Linked DNA regions of Homo sapiens: region 1 is linked to region 2. The links are contacts of gene promoters, found by promoter capture Hi-C in human tissues and cell types (Jung and others, 2019). All regions are on one chromosome and are shown on one strand. Each heading gives the region's core, a stretch centred on a gene start or on the middle of the fragment in contact. The rest is flanking DNA. Distances are from core to core; before and after follow the strand shown. Region 1 overlaps ABCA3 (ATP binding cassette subfamily A member 3). Region 2 holds the start of DNASE1L2 (deoxyribonuclease 1 like 2).

Region 1 (4,371 bases), core at 1,798-4,297, 41 kb after region 2:
AGTGTTTAGGCCACAGCCACCCATGTGTAGGGGTGGCTACACATGGGTGGCTGTGGCCTAAACACTGCCCAAACACGTTATATTTTTTATAACATGGAACTAGATGGCAGAAGTTTAAAGGGAATAAAAGAGCTACTGGAGACGATTTGCAGCTTTCATAAATTTCCAGAGACTGATAAAAACACAGACTTGAAATTGTCCCAAATGAGCCAAAGTGATGAAAACAAGTCTTTTCTAAAACTCTGAATTCTAAGGGAATGTAAAATGCAGAAGTTCAAATCGGGTTTAGAAAACCATAAGAAATAATAGTGCATTCGCCGGGCATGGTGGCTCACGCCTGTGATCCCAGCACTTTGGGAGGCCAAGGCAGGTGGATCACTTGAGGTCAGGGGTTTGGCAGCAGCCTGGCCAACATGAGACCTCGTCTATACTAAAAATAAAATTTAGCCATGCATGGTGGCGCATGCCCTTAGTCCCAGCCACTCCGGAGGCTGGGGTGGGAGGATTGCATGAGCCCAGGTGTTTGAGGCTGCAGTGAGCTGTGATACCACCACTGCACTCCACGCTGGGCAGCAGAGCAAGATCCTGTCTCCAAAAGACAAAACACAAAACAGTGCATAAAAAGGGGCCAGGCACGGTGGCTTATGGCTGTAATCCCAGTACTTTGGGAGTCTGAGGTGGGTGGATCACTTCAGGTCAGGAGTTCGAGACCAGGCTGACCAAGATGGTGAAACCCCGTCTCTACTAAAAACACAAAAATTAGCTGGGTGTGGTGGCGCGTGCCTGTTGTCCCAGCTACTCGGGAGGCAGAGGCAGGAGAATGGCTTGAACCCGGGAGGCAGAAGTTGCAGTGAGCCAAGATTGCGCCACTGCACTCCAGCCTGGGCAACAAAGCAAGACTCCATAAATAACTAAAAAGGGAGCTGATGAGGAGTTATTTCTGGGAAATGGCAAATGCCCACGGGTGACCCTGATGCCAGCAGCTTCTCTCCCACCAGACCTGTGCTTCCCACACAGCCCCACCTGCTCTTGTCTTTAGACTAAGAGCCTGTCACCGGGCGTTGATCTAGCCGGCTTTTTCCTTTGTGTTATGGGCCTGTTCCTTCACCTCAGTGTATTCTCTGCGTGTGCTCCCTTCTGGGAAAAGCAACGTCCCACGTTTGTGTGATTGAAATGTGAAAGGAGAGCCTCATGTCTAGATTGTGGGCGAGTGATTGAGCCCTGTGACCGCTCGCGCGTGTGACCCACAGACTGTGACTGTGTCCCCTCAGCATTTATTTTCTGGATGGTCACAACGTATTCAATGTGTCCTTGAGACAGCCACCCAGCCCTTAGGGTGGTCCCTGCGTGTCCTGGGGCGGGCGACTTCCTGAGGGTGCAGTGCTGGAAACAGAGACTGCTTCGAGCCTGGCCACCTTCCCTCCTGTGCCGGCTGCTTCTAGGAGATGCTGTGGGACGGTGCCCGGCTTCGCGGTGACTACCATGCCCTAAGGAGCAGAGCCTCCAGGATGCCCCCGGGCTGCGCTGGACGCTAAGACCCCAGCACCTAATCACAGTCAGCAGCTTCCCTCCACTGACAGTGATCTGCATGGTCCATTCCTGGCGGCCTGGGGGCCTCGCTACAGTTCAACCTGGCTGGCTTCCCGCTTCCTCCCCAGGGGAGATTAGTGTCGTGTGTAAACTTGGACAAGTCACTGGGTCCTCTCTCCAGGGAGTGCCTGGAGAAATTCAACCCCCAGCTCAGCTGCAGCCCTTCCTGGGTCAGCTCTCCACCCAGAGACCCCGGAGCTTGCCCGCAGACTGCCCGGCCTGCCCCAGCTCTGGGAAAGTGAACTCCAGAGTATGCAGACATGGAGATGCGCATGCTGATCCTGGGCATGAGGGCTGGGCTGCACTCGTCCATTCTGTGCATACTGCCTTGAATTTTTCATATCCATCATAGAAAAAAGTGATTAAAAATAAAGGATGAGATAAACTTGGAGAGAGAGGATGTAAGATGGGCCCTGCTTGCCCGTCCTGTCCCTGCCTGATGGCGAGACAGCCGCCACCCCTCATCGCCCCTCCTCTGCGGTGGGCGGCTGCAGGTGGGCGAAGCTCAGGAAGACCTGTTCCAGCGAGATCTGGCTCACGGAGTAGTCGTCCACGCCGTACTTTTCCTTGGCTTTCTCCAGAATACCGAAAACCTTTGGGGAGCAGAAAAGTCACTGGTAGGAGAGAACAGGGCCCAGGCTCCTCTGCGGGACCTGGGAGTCCTCTGGCAATAGGGGCTGATGAGGCCCCCACAATCCTACCCCTGCCCAGCGCCACCCCAGAGCCCCAGAGAGGTCAGCCCTGCGACGGCACCGTGCTCCCAGGTAGAGGACGCTGGCTAAGCAGGAGCCAGCGGGGATGGGGCCCAGCCTCCTCCCTGTGCTGTTCCCAGCTCAGATTACAACCTTGAGCCAGTGATGTTCCCTTTCTGAGCCAGTTCTTTTTTTCCCCCATATTTTTTTAGAGAGAGTCTTGCTCTGTAGCCCAGGCTGGAGTGCAGTGGCACAATCATAGCTCACTGCAGTCTCGAACTCCCAGGCTCAAGCGATCCTCCCACCTTAGCCTCCCGAGTGGCTGGGACTACAGGTATGCATGATACCTGGCTAATTTTTAAATTTTTTGTAGAGACGGGGTCTATGTTGCCCAGGCTGGTCTAGAACTCCCAGGCTTAAGCAATCCTCCCTCCTCGGCCTCCCAAAGTGCTGGGATTATGGTGTGAGCCACCATCCCTGACCCCTTTCCTGTTTTACACTGAATTCCTTTTACCACTGATAATTTTGGATATAAAACCCCCAAACCAGCACGTATCAGGCTGAGTGTTAGGGGAGAAATGGAAAGTGACTCCTCTGTGGAAAGAGCCTGCAGTCACCACAGAGGGAGAGACCCCTGGAGGGACCTCCCCCTGCCCCATGAGTGCCCAGTGGGGCCCCAGGGACTGCCTCACCTTCGCCCAGCTGAGGTCACGGCCCGGCAGGTGGTAATGGACCATGCCTTGGTGCTCATCTTCCAGGACGCTGCCTGCACAAAGGAGAGACGGTGTTGCTGTGAGCGCCGGGCTGGAGGATCGGGGAGGGTGCCTGGGTGCTCAGCACTGGAGTCCTCGTCCCAGGGATTGGGGAGATGGGACTTGGCGGGGCGAGGCACAGACGCTCCGCACAGCAGATGGGAGAGGCCTAGGTAGGGGCCCAGGGCCCACCCAGTGGGGGCTGCCGGGGCCGGCACACACCTGGAAAGGTCAGGTCCACGAAGGCCTTGAACTCCTCCAGCGCCTCCTGTTGCCCTTCACTCTGCACCTTGGCCCGCAGGGAGTAGCCGCTGCCGAACTTGCTCTTGAGGTGCTGGGGGCTGCCCAGGCACTTGAACTGCCCCTGCACCATGATGGCCAGCCGGGTGCACAGGGCCTCACACTCCTCCATGCTGTGGAGAGGGCGGGACCTCAGATAGGGCTTGGGGTGCCAAAGGCTTGTGCAGACAGGAAGGCATTGGCTCTCCGATCAGGCTGTTCCTGATACCCATGCTCAGTGTGGCTCACGGGCAGACTCTGCACCAGATGCTGATGGGTCTCCTGGCCACCTGGCTCCTCCATGGCCCACCCGGTGCTGAAACTTCCAGTAACCCACAGACCCAGGCTCTACCTGTGGGAGGTGATGATGATGGCCTTGCCAGACTCTCGGGCTCGTGCCACGGTGTCCCAAAGCAGGCGCCGGGCCACGGGGTCCATGCCAGTGGACGGCTCGTCCAGGAAGATGACAGCAGGCTCTCCGATCAGGGCGATGCCGGTGCTCAGCTTCCGCTTGTTACCACCACTAGAGGCAGGAGGGTGCCAGGTGGGGGAATAAGGCTGAGAGTTAGCATTGGCTCCCATGTCCCAGTGGAGGCCCGTGTCCCAGCAGCGGCCCACACCCAGCAATTGCAGAACAGCCCTAGTGAAGAGGAAGGAGCTGTGTGTGCACCTGGAAAGCCCACCGCATAGGGCTGGAGGCCCCAGAGAAGGCTGTTCCCAGGGGCCCGGTGCACGCACCTACATGGGAAGACATCTGCCTGCACCTAAAGGGGACCTGCCGACCCTGACATCTCTCACTGCTGGCTTTGTCCCTAGGTGGCAGGCACTGTCAGGGCAGTCCCTTTCCTACGTGGAGCTACCTGGGTCACACCACCACATCCCAGCTCCATCCTGGAGCCACAAGCAGGAGCTCTGGCTGCTGACCTGAGCGGTCACTCCCAGCTCTATGCTATGGGGACCTTGATTCTGACTCCACTCTGGGAAGGGCCAGGGCTCGGGAGGTGCACCTGTACGTCCTGACCAGCTTGTTGGCATGTGGCTCCAGCAGCAGGCCCCGC
Region 2 (4,237 bases), core at 1,032-3,531:
GGCTGCAGGGCCGAGGCCGTTCGCCTGCGCGCAGTGTGGCAAGGCCTTCCCCAAGGCCTACCTGCTCAAGAAGCACCAGGAGGTGCACGTGCGTGAGCGCCGCTTCCGCTGTGGCGACTGCGGGAAGCTCTACAAGACCATTGCCCATGTGCGTGGCCACCGGCGCGTCCACTCAGACGAGCGGCCCTACCCTTGTCCCAAGTGTGGCAAGCGCTACAAGACTAAGGTGGGTCTCTGGCCGCAGGACCCTGGCGCCTGATCCCCCCATCCTGCTCCCTGGCCGTGGCCCAGGTGCACCCCCTTCCCTGCCTCCACCATGCTCAGTCTTGACCCAGCCCCTCCCTTGGGCCACAGGCGGGAGGGGAGAGCTGTAGTCTGTTGTGGCCAAGGCCAGGCTGGCACTGACAGGTGTCTCCACAGAACGCACAGCAGGTGCACTTCAGGACACACCTGGAGGAGAAGCCGCACGTGTGCCAGTTCTGCAGCCGTGGCTTCCGAGAGAAGGGCTCACTGGTGCGGCACGTGCGACACCACACAGGCGAGAAGCCGTTCAAGTGCTACAAGTGCGGCCGTGGCTTCGCCGAGCACGGCACGCTGAACCGGCACCTGCGCACCAAAGGTCTGGGCCGGTGGAGGTGGGAGGGGGAGGGGAGGGGGCCGGGGCTTGCCTAGCCCTGACCGAGTCCCCACCCACAGGGGGCTGCCTGCTGGAGGTGGAGGAGTTGCTGGTGTCTGAGGACAGCCCCGCGGCAGCCACCACCGTCCTCACGGAAGACCCGCACACAGTGTTGGTGGAGTTCTCGTCCGTGGTAGCTGACACCCAGGAGTATATCATCGAGGTGGGTGTGGGGCCCTGGGGCCGTGCTGGGACCCAGGGGCAGCCAAGGCTGACCTCTGTCCTTCTGCCCATCTGCCCAGGCCACTGCGGACGATGCGGAGACCAGTGAGGCCACGGAGATCATCGAGGGCACCCAGACAGAGGTGAGGGGTAGGGCAGGCGGGGGCGGGGAGGCTCCCTGGCACAGCCGCTCTTGCTGAGCCGTGGCCCTGCAGGTGGACAGCCACATCATGAAGGTGGTGCAGCAGATCGTGCACCAGGCTAGCGCCGGCCACCAGATCATCGTGCAGAACGTCACCATGGACGAGGAGACGGCGCTGGGCCCAGAGGCGGCTGCCGCCGACACCATCACCATCGCCACCCCCGAGAGCCTGACAGAGCAGGTGGCCATGACGCTGGCCTCGGCCATCAGCGAGGGCACTGTGCTTGCCGCCCGGGCAGGGACAAGTGGCACTGAACAGGCCACTGTGACCATGGTGTCATCAGAGGACATCGAGATCCTGGAGCATGCAGGCGAGCTGGTCATCGCCTCGCCGGAGGGCCAGCTGGAGGTGCAGACGGTCATCGTCTAGCATGAGGTCTGCGGGGTCCTGGCCGGGCAGGGACAGGGCAGAGGACTCTGAGCGCCCCACCCATGCCTGCCTGGCCTGGTAGAGAAGATGGCACAGGATGGAGGCGCCCCAAGACGGACAGTGTACATAAGAGTTTCTTGTTGCTTTACAATAAAACATGAGAACCTGCAGCTTGTGATGTTGTGGCAGTGGCAGCCTCCGCGGCTGGTGCCACCACCTTTGCCCAGGCCCCCGCAGCAGCACCTGCCTCCCAGGCCACTCCTAGACTCACGTGCCTGGCCGCCCCACCCAGGGGCTTCTGCCAGCCCTGGCGGCGCCTTGGTGCTGTGTGGGTGTCATTGGCATGTTGACCAACAGCCTCCTGCCCTGCCCAGCTGGAGCTGTGCCCCCAGCTGCGCTGCCTGAGGCCTGTGGGTGGGTGGGAGGACCAGGGACGGGGACAGGGAGATCTGGGAGCCTCGGCCTCCACCGCAGGGTGAGCAGGTGGAGCAGCAGCAGGAGATGCTGGGTAGGGAGTGTGGCTGGTCCTACCTGCGCTGCCTTGCTTTCCCTGAAGGGATTCTGCTCAGGGAGGCAGAGTCTAGGCGACCTAATTTCTAGGGGCGAGGACAAGAACACAGCCGCACCGGGATGTGGCTGACCGTCTACCTCCCTCCTAGGGGGCTGGCAGGGGCTTCTGGGACGGTTTTGGGACAGGTCTGGGGCACCAGAACCGGCTCAGGCAGGTCTCCCACCCCTTACCCTGGGGGTCTCCATGGGAATGAAAGCCAGGAGTTCATCAGGCACCCAGCTGAGTCGAGGGGGCGGGACCCAGTGCAGCCCGGCCCCTCCCTGGCCCAGGACCTCAAATACCGGCCCCTGCCTTGGTGCCAGAGCTACTGCCAGAGGGAGTCAGTGCAGTCCTGTGTCGGACACGCCCGCAGCCTGGACCCGGGATCCCCATCCCCCTAGGATCTCTGAGCCTCGGGCCTCTGCACCCACATCCAAGGTGAGTCTCTCGGCTGCCCTGAGCTGGGGCTGGATGGGCCGGACCCTCCATTCCGGCTGCAGCTTCCCGCGCAGTGAGAAGGCAGCGGTCCCTGAGAGCCCAGCAGTGCCCTGGGAGCCTGCAGAACGCAGGGGCGGATTCCGCGTCGCACTGGCCGTCAAGGGGCGGCCGCGGAGGGAAGGGGTGGGTCGGTGGGTCTGACAGCGGGTCTGCGTAGGCGGCAGCGTCTGTCCCTCCCAGCCTCTCGCTCCGCGCCATGGGCGGGCCCCGGGCTCTGCTGGCCGCACTCTGGGCGCTGGAAGCCGCCGGGACCGCCGCGCTTCGCATCGGAGCCTTCAACATTCAGAGCTTCGGTGACAGCAAAGTGTCGGACCCCGCTTGCGGCAGCATCATCGCGAAGGTGGGGCCCGGGCCGGGGCGGGGCGGCGTTTAGGGGTGCTGACCGCGCTGACCCCCGCACCCGCCGCTCCTCCCCAGATCCTGGCTGGCTATGACCTCGCGCTGGTGCAGGAGGTGCGAGACCCAGACCTCAGCGCCGTGTCCGCGCTCATGGAGCAGATCAACAGGTGTGGTGGGCAGGGCCCCTCGTCGCGACCCCCCGCCGGGATCTCGCCCCGGCGCGGCGCCCCGACCCTGAGCGGGCCCCTGTCTCCGCAGCGTGTCCGAGCACGAGTACAGCTTTGTGAGCAGCCAGCCCCTGGGCCGGGACCAGTACAAGGAGATGTACCTGTTCGTGTACAGGTGAGGGGCGGGCCGCAGGGAGGGGCGCGCGGGGCCGCAGGTCGGGGGCTCAGCGGGTCCTCCCCATCTCCTAGGAAAGACGCGGTGTCGGTCGTGGACACCTACCTGTACCCAGACCCCGAGGACGTCTTCAGCCGCGAGCCCTTCGTGGTCAAGTTCTCGGCCCCCGGCACCGGTGAGCGGGCCCCGCCCCTCCCCTCCCGCCGAGCTCTGACGCCCCCACCCCTTCCCGCAGCAGCACAGAACCTGGTGCTGATCCCGCTGCACGCGGCGCCGCATCAAGCCGTGGCGGAGATCGACGCGCTCTACGACGTGTACCTGGACGTGATCGACAAGTGGGGCACCGACGTAAGCCCACCCCTCGGTCCCGGGGTCCCTGCAGGCGCGCCCCGGGGGTCTGGTTCATGAGGGCGGGACCTCGACGGCTCCTGCGGCGGCTCAGACACGGCTCCGCGGCGCCCGCAGGACATGCTGTTCCTGGGCGACTTCAACGCCGACTGCAGCTATGTGCGGGCGCAGGACTGGGCCGCCATCCGTCTGAGGAGCAGTGAGGTCTTCAAGTGGCTCATCCCTGACAGCGCCGACACCACGGTGGGCAACTCAGACTGCGCCTACGACCGCATTGTGGCCTGTGGCGCCCGCCTGCGCCGGAGCCTGAAGCCCCAGTCGGCCACCGTGCACGACTTCCAGGAGGAATTCGGCCTGGACCAGACTCAGGCGAGTGGGCCGTGGGGCGGTGCTGGTCTTGGGTCCCCACCGCCCGGGCGCACGCAGGCAGCAGGGAGGGTCCAGCGCCCAAGGCAGGGCCACCTCAGCTTCCTCCCTGCACCAGGGCTCGTTTCCAAGGACCCTGGAGAGCCCGGCCCACCCCATGTGGAGCTCTGGGCAGGCAGGGTACCTTGCCTTTCCCTCAAAGGGCCAGTGGTGACACCCTCTGCCCCGGCCCCTGCCCCTGCCCCACCGCAGGCAGCAGCAGGGGTGGGCACCCAGGCCTCACCGGCCCCTCCCATCCCTGTGGGTGGGGTGCACTTTTCCCCTGAGGCTCACTCTGTCCCCACAGGCTCTTGCCATCAGCGACCACTTTCCAGTGGAGGTGAC

Evidence for each region. Contacts are between HindIII fragments. The study calls those that stand out against the background at their distance.
Region 1: a contact is called between a fragment that was not itself captured here and the fragment with the promoter of DNASE1L2 in region 2, in 1 of the 25 tissues and cell types used here (spleen).

The regions. Positions count from the first base shown.
Region 1 is chr16:2,274,623-2,278,993 of GRCh38, forward strand. It overlaps ABCA3 (ATP binding cassette subfamily A member 3), which reads right to left. Exons shown (of 33, transcript NM_001089.3): 29 at 4,321-4,371; 30 at 3,666-3,836; 31 at 3,257-3,447; 32 at 2,975-3,048; 33 at 1,259-2,183. The coding sequence ends at 2,052. MIR4717 (microRNA 4717) reads left to right here; the gene lies at 1-69. Among named protein-coding and RNA genes, the nearest start is that of MIR4717, 2.2 kb to the left of the region's middle. The HindIII fragment of the contact is 5,249 bases long and covers 424-4,371 here.
Region 2 is chr16:2,234,163-2,238,399 of GRCh38, forward strand. It overlaps DNASE1L2 (deoxyribonuclease 1 like 2), which reads left to right and starts at 2,282. Exons shown (of 7, transcript NM_001374.3): 1 at 2,282-2,398; 2 at 2,616-2,798; 3 at 2,876-2,964; 4 at 3,056-3,139; 5 at 3,214-3,487; 6 at 3,605-3,856; 7 at 4,200-4,237. The coding sequence starts at 2,655. E4F1 (E4F transcription factor 1) reads left to right here. Exons shown (of 14, transcript NM_004424.5): 10 at 9-226; 11 at 421-619; 12 at 697-839; 13 at 919-981; 14 at 1,054-1,580. The coding sequence ends at 1,410. The HindIII fragment of the contact is 25,906 bases long and covers 1-4,237 here.